Regions from separate parts of the Homo sapiens genome. Here region 1 is linked to region 2. Evidence: promoter capture Hi-C in human tissues and cell types (Jung and others, 2019). All regions are on one chromosome and are shown on one strand. Each heading gives the region's core, a stretch centred on a gene start or on the middle of the fragment in contact. The rest is flanking DNA. Distances are from core to core; before and after follow the strand shown.

What was found. The method cuts DNA at HindIII sites, captures the fragments that hold promoters and counts their contacts. A contact is called where the count stands out against the background at its distance.
Region 1: a contact is called between a fragment that was not itself captured here and the fragment with the promoter of ZFYVE26 in region 2, in 1 of the 25 tissues and cell types used here (spleen).

Annotation. Positions count from the first base shown.
Region 1 is chr14:68,942,983-68,945,967 of GRCh38, forward strand. The region is part of intron 1 of ACTN1 (actinin alpha 1); the gene reads right to left. Among named protein-coding and RNA genes, the nearest start is that of ACTN1, 35 kb to the right of the region's middle. RefSeq lists an enhancer at 1-127. The HindIII fragment of the contact is 5,962 bases long and covers 1-2,985 here.
Region 2 is chr14:67,815,095-67,817,898 of GRCh38, forward strand. ZFYVE26 (zinc finger FYVE-type containing 26) reads right to left here and starts at 1,496. Exons shown (of 42, transcript NM_015346.4): 1 at 1,440-1,496; 2 at 676-952. The coding sequence starts at 869. RefSeq lists enhancers at 1,708-1,877, 1,928-2,027. The HindIII fragment of the contact is 27,987 bases long and covers 1-2,804 here.

The DNA.
Region 1 (2,985 bases), core at 401-2,900, 1.1 Mb after region 2:
CACCTGAGGTTCCGCAACACAAAGTTTCTTCTCCCAAAACACAAACACACAGATCAGCACATTAAAAAGCAGCACAGAAACCCTCACCCAGGCCCAGGACAATGTGACCCAGTGCCATCACTGCCTTCCTGGCCTGTCCACTAGGCCGGCGGTGGTCTGGGGTGTCAACAGCTCAGCAGGCTGAGCAGCTCGCCAACACCTTGGTATGGCCAGCCCGGTTTGAGGGACAGGGCGGCAAGGTATCAGCAAGCAGGGAGCAGCAAGCTGAGGAACAGGAATGTGTCTGTGGGAACTTCCATTTCCAGAAGCGTGGGAAGAAGGGCAGCTGCAAGCAGATCTGTCCACCTCTGCTGAGAAGCCCAGGGACCTCTGGGTAGTGCAGGGCAGGACGGGACAAGGGGCTTCCGCCTGTGGTCAGTGTATTCACAGTCCTCTTCAAAGATCAGAGAGATCCACGCCTGCTGTTGCCCACCAGCACCGGGGCTCCTAGGCTTCACTTCAGACACTGCAGCAAGGGCAGCCCTGGGGTGCTTTCGGCTCCCCAGCCCCCTCCCCCCAACCTTGAAAGGAAAGATCAGCGTTCCATCCTCAGTTTCAAGATGGGGACACTGATGGCAACGTGGACTTCAGGGAGCCCCAAGGGGAGGTGAGGGAAGGAGAGGGAATCATATCCTAGGGTTGCTCAAAGATGTTGGCTACCATTATAACCCTCAGTGAGTGCTCACTCACTGTTATCATCACCCACGAGGCATGCGCCATCTCAGCAAGTCCACTCAACAATTCTAGGTTAAAGGAACAAAGGAACAGGACACCAAGGGCCAGTTCCCCACAGTCACACAGCTGGCAAGAGGCAGAACTGAGGTGTGAACTAGGTCGGTCAAAGCCTGAGCCTGCTCCACTCTGCTGGGAGGCTAAACTCTTCCAGGCCAGCCTTCAGACTCCGTTCAGGCTGGGGAATGATGGGGACTCATCCAGCTCTGCCCACCAGCCTGCACCAGTCCCTGCTCAGTCTCAAGCCACACGGGCACCCACTCAGCTGTGCCCAGGCAGTCCCTGAGCCCAGTGGACTGGGGAGGAGAGCCACAGGGCAGCCCAGGACACTTCAACGCTTAAAGCCAGCCACGAGAGGAGGCTGTGGACCTGCTGGCCCCCTGGGGATGCAGAATGGGCCAGCAGGTTTTTCTTCCAGGTCTCAGTTTTAGGGAGATGGAAAGAGGGTTTGAATTCTGTCTTGGGTTTCTGAACACAAAGGCCATTGAGAAAGACCGATGAATAATTAAAGGGGCCACCAAGCCGATGATGTGTGCCAGAGTGTGGGCAACTGGCTTGCTAGGGCTTGGACTGGCCCGATGTTGGCAGCCTCCCTCACGCAGGCCACTGCAGATTCTACAGACTCGCCCAGGCTCCAGGCCTCCCCTGCCAGACAGCTGCAGCCAGATTCATTCATTCCTTCCTTCCATAAATTCTTACTGAGCACTCATTCTGTATCAGGGACTAGGGTTACATCGTGGGCAAATACAGGCACTGTCCTAAGTCATGGAGCCTGCAGTCTAATGGAGAAGACAAACAATAAGCAAAGATTTTATCAATGCGTGTATTTTTGTACACTAAGATCCAGTGCCTATAGGAAAGGTCCTGGAAGGCATAAGGCTAAAACAGGACCCTGAACTGATCCTGGGGGGCTGTAGGGGGGCAGTGTGTCTGATCACTGCCCCAAGGGAGTCAGTGAATCTATAAGGCTGGGGAGTATTAGATGAAAAGTTCGTAAATGTGAAGGGGGCCCACATAACCTGTCATCCAAACCAAGGCACCAGGGGGTCTACTAATAATTACACCAGCATAACAGGTATAGGCAGAGCTGTAGGTCACCCTACACGTGTGTGGGGCGGGTAGCTGTAGGTCACCCTATGCGTGTGTGGGTCAGGTAGCTGTAGGTCACCCTATGCGTGTGTGGAGCAGGTAGCTGTAGGTCACCCTACGCGTGTGTGGGGCTGGGCAACATGGTGAAACCCTGTCTCTACTAAAAATACAAAATTAGCTGGGTGTGGTGGCACGTGCCCATAATCCCAGCTACTCAAAAGGCTAAGGTAGGAGAATCGCTTGAACCCAGGAGGCGGAGGTTGCAGTGAGCCTATTGCACCACTACACTCCAGCCTGGGCAACAGAGTAAGACTCCGGTTCAAAAAAAAAAAAAAGAAAGAAAGAAAGAAAGAAAAGAAGAAGAAGAAGAAAACAAACAAACAGCAAAGGCCCCAGAGAAAAGAGAGTAAGGTCTGTTCAAAAAACTGAAAAAAAAAAAGTCACAGTGCAGGAGGGAAGAAGAGGGTGCCAGAGACTGGAGATCAACTAGCCACATGGGTGTTCGGGTTCCTGCAGCTGTTGTTTCTCCTGAGAGCAGTGGAAGTCACCGAAGACATTTTATTTTAGCTGAAAGAAACAAATGGGGCTGTGGCGGGCTGAGTTGGGCTGGGAGTGCCAATCAGATGCTGGTTACATAATTCCACCTGCATCTTAGAAAGAGACCTCTAAATGCCATGGGAAGGGCAGATCAGAGATGGAAAAGAGTGGCTGAAAAGAGACCAAGCACAAGATCACGAAAAGGTCCCAGCCAGAGACAAAGGGAGCCAGTCCAGGGTGGCAGTGTAGGAGAGGGAGAAGCAGGTGGATACAAGAGATACTCAGGAGAGACGGGGAGGAGGGGCAGAGGCCACACCCAGATTTTCAGACCTGAGCCAACAGAAGGAGGAACAGGCAGAGAGGCCACAGCTTTGCACCCATACTCCCTGCCTGCCCAGACACCTGGGGCAGCTCGCTGTTCACAGCAGTCCCCAAAGGTCCAAAGTCCTGAGGCTGCAGATCTAATTGAAAGGTCTGAGTGGAAGAGCTTCAGAGATCAGGATGTCACTCCCAACCCACTGCCCCAAGTGTTCTACCAGTGTCAACCCAATCAATCTTAACCACCCCAGAAGGCATCTCATTTTACAG
Region 2 (2,804 bases), core at 246-2,745:
GAATTCTTTTGTGGTAATGGAACAGTTCTGATCCTTATTACAGTGGGATTACATGAATCTATATATGGATAAAACTGCATAAAACTACAAATGAAAAAATGAAGGCAGATTAAGAAAATGCTGAAAACCAAATAAACTCTGTAGTGTCATTTAAAGTAATGTGCCAATGTCAATTTCATGGTTTTGATATTGTACTACAGCTGTATGAGACGTCGCAATTGGGGCAGACTGGGAAAAGGATACGCTGGACTCCATTATTTTTGCAGCTTCTTGTGAGACTGCAATTATTTCGAAATAAAAAGTTTTAAGTAAAGCGACAACAATATTTTCAATCTCATAAGCAAGAAGAGAGCAGGGTTTGCTTTTTTGGAGGCAAAGAAAATAGTTTTCAATGCAGTTCCACCATCTATATTAACGAGGATAAACAAGAAATGGCAGTTTCAGGCACACTTTGGCAGCCAGGCTTACATTCAGTTGCAGATGATAATCAAAAGCCAATATTGACTAAGTAATGGATGTATACTATAGAGGTAAAATTTCAGAGCACGTGAAATACACTGTGCCTCTGCTTATTCTTCAGAGGGTAGTTGAGTGGGGGCACATTGACCAATGCCCAAATATTGAACCACATGTCTCTCACCCTGGGACCGTCTGGTAGGAAAAGAGATCCCTTACCTCAGCAGATTTGGACACACCACCAATGCCTGAAGTATGTCTTCTACCCTCTTTGGGATATCCCCTTGTCCCTCCTGTAGCTGAGGTACACATGCCTGTGCCAGCTCCCATTCTCCCCTCCGCAGGCATTCGCAGAAAAATCCAAAAAGCTGCTTCTGCGAAGCAGCTTCCTCTTTTCCAAATGGATGATTCATTTTCCCAGCACAGAGTGCAGGGAGATACAAAGAAATGAGTTATGCCGAACACATTCTCAATGTTCTCATTCGCGGAGTACCTCCTAGAAACAACACAACGCCAGTGAGAAGAAACAGAAGGCACTGTATTAAGACAAAGCAGCAACTACTGGTCCGCCTGGGAAAGGCGGGACTTGCTTGCCTAAGTATCGTTTTCAGTTTAATTTCCCACGTTACTTTTTGAAAACACTTTCTTCAAGGGGTGGATCCCATCTCTTCACGCGGATTCCTATATTTAATAATATTAATAGTCATATTTGCTCCGGGCGCAGACCCATAACTCTACGTCCGTATTCCCTACTGAACGTTATGCCCAGTCTTGACTCCAAATCCCCAGGTGGTCGCCTCCTCAAGAATGAGAAATTCAGCAGGAACCTCCCTAGTTTGAGCCCTCTGTTAAGGCAGAGGATTGACGACCAGGAGACGAATCTGTGTCATAAGTGGAAAGCAGTGTGGGGGTGGGCCGCAGGGACGCTCTCTGCGGGGGTCGTGGAGAGGGGCCCCTCCCTCTCAGGGGTGTCTTACACTCACCTGCTCCCGGCGCCCAAAGCAATAGAGCTCTCAGCGCAGCCATGTTTGAGCCGAGTCAGGTGACAGAACCCACTCCGAACAGCGGTGGTGGGGGTGGTGACAAAGACTGAAAGCCCCACTCCTATTGGCTCAAGGCAGGGAAGATGAAAATTAAGTGCCATATTTGTTTGAGTCACGTGACGCCACCTCTCCGGGAGTAGGGAAAGCTAGAAAGCTCGGAAAGAGGAAATCAGCTACCTGGCTGCGGACCATCTCCCTCAATTGTGACAGCTCCGGCGCTCAATACTTTCAGTTCTGCATTCGGCCGAGCAGGTGGCAGGAAGAACTGTGACCCTGGATTTTTTTTTTTCTTCCACTCTCTTATCTCCTTAACATGTGAAGTCAACATTTATTGAACGCCAACCAGTGATGGTGTTTTGCCAGGCGCGGGGGATACCCGGAGCTAGGAGAACTGGGTTCTCCTCCATTATTATTCTATCTACTGGGCTCTTTTGTTCCGGAACTCTGCGGTCTGAATTTCCATATTCTTCTGCTTCACTCCATTCATTTATTTGCACATTTACCCTACAACTGTTAATTGAACGGTGTGCTAGGCTTTATTTTATTTTTTTAGAGACAGAGTCTCTCTGTCGCTGGAGTGCGGTGGTGTGATCTCGGCTCATGGCAGCCTCGAACTTCCTGGATCAAGTAATCCTTAAGCCTCAGCCTTCCTGTAGTAGCTGGGACTAGAGGCGCGCGCCACTACACCGGGCTTAGGCCCTATTCTCTAAGTTGAGTAAATGGAGGTCCTTCTTCTCAAGGGAGATGCAGGCCAAAAATTAGGAGACGGTGGGCTAAATTATAAGACAGAAGTATGCATAAGAGATCAGAGAGCAAAGAATGAGCAAAGGCTTTTTCGCAAACACAATAATCTGAAACCAAGTCTTTTGTTTTGAGACAGAGTCTCGCTCTGTCTCCCAGGCTGGAGTGCAATGGCGCGATCTCGGCTCGCTGCAACCTCCGTCTCCCGGGTTTAAGCGATTCTCCTGCCTCAGCCTCACTGTGTAGCTGGGATAAGCGATTCTTCTGCCTCAGCCTCACTGAGTAGCTGGGATTTACAGGCGCGCGCCACCACACCCGGCTAATTTTTGTATTTTTAATAGAGACAGGGGTTCACCATGTTGGCCAGGCTGGTCTCGAACTCCTGACCTCAGGCAATCCGCCCACCTCGGCCTCCCAAAGTTCTGGGATTACGGGCGTGAGCCACCGTTCCCAGCCTGAAACCAACTCTTGAAGTAACGGCTTACTAGGTTTGCTCACCACAGCTGCCTTACACCAAGCCTTTTGTTTGGTTTCCCTGGTGTGCTTTAATCACAGACTCTCAGC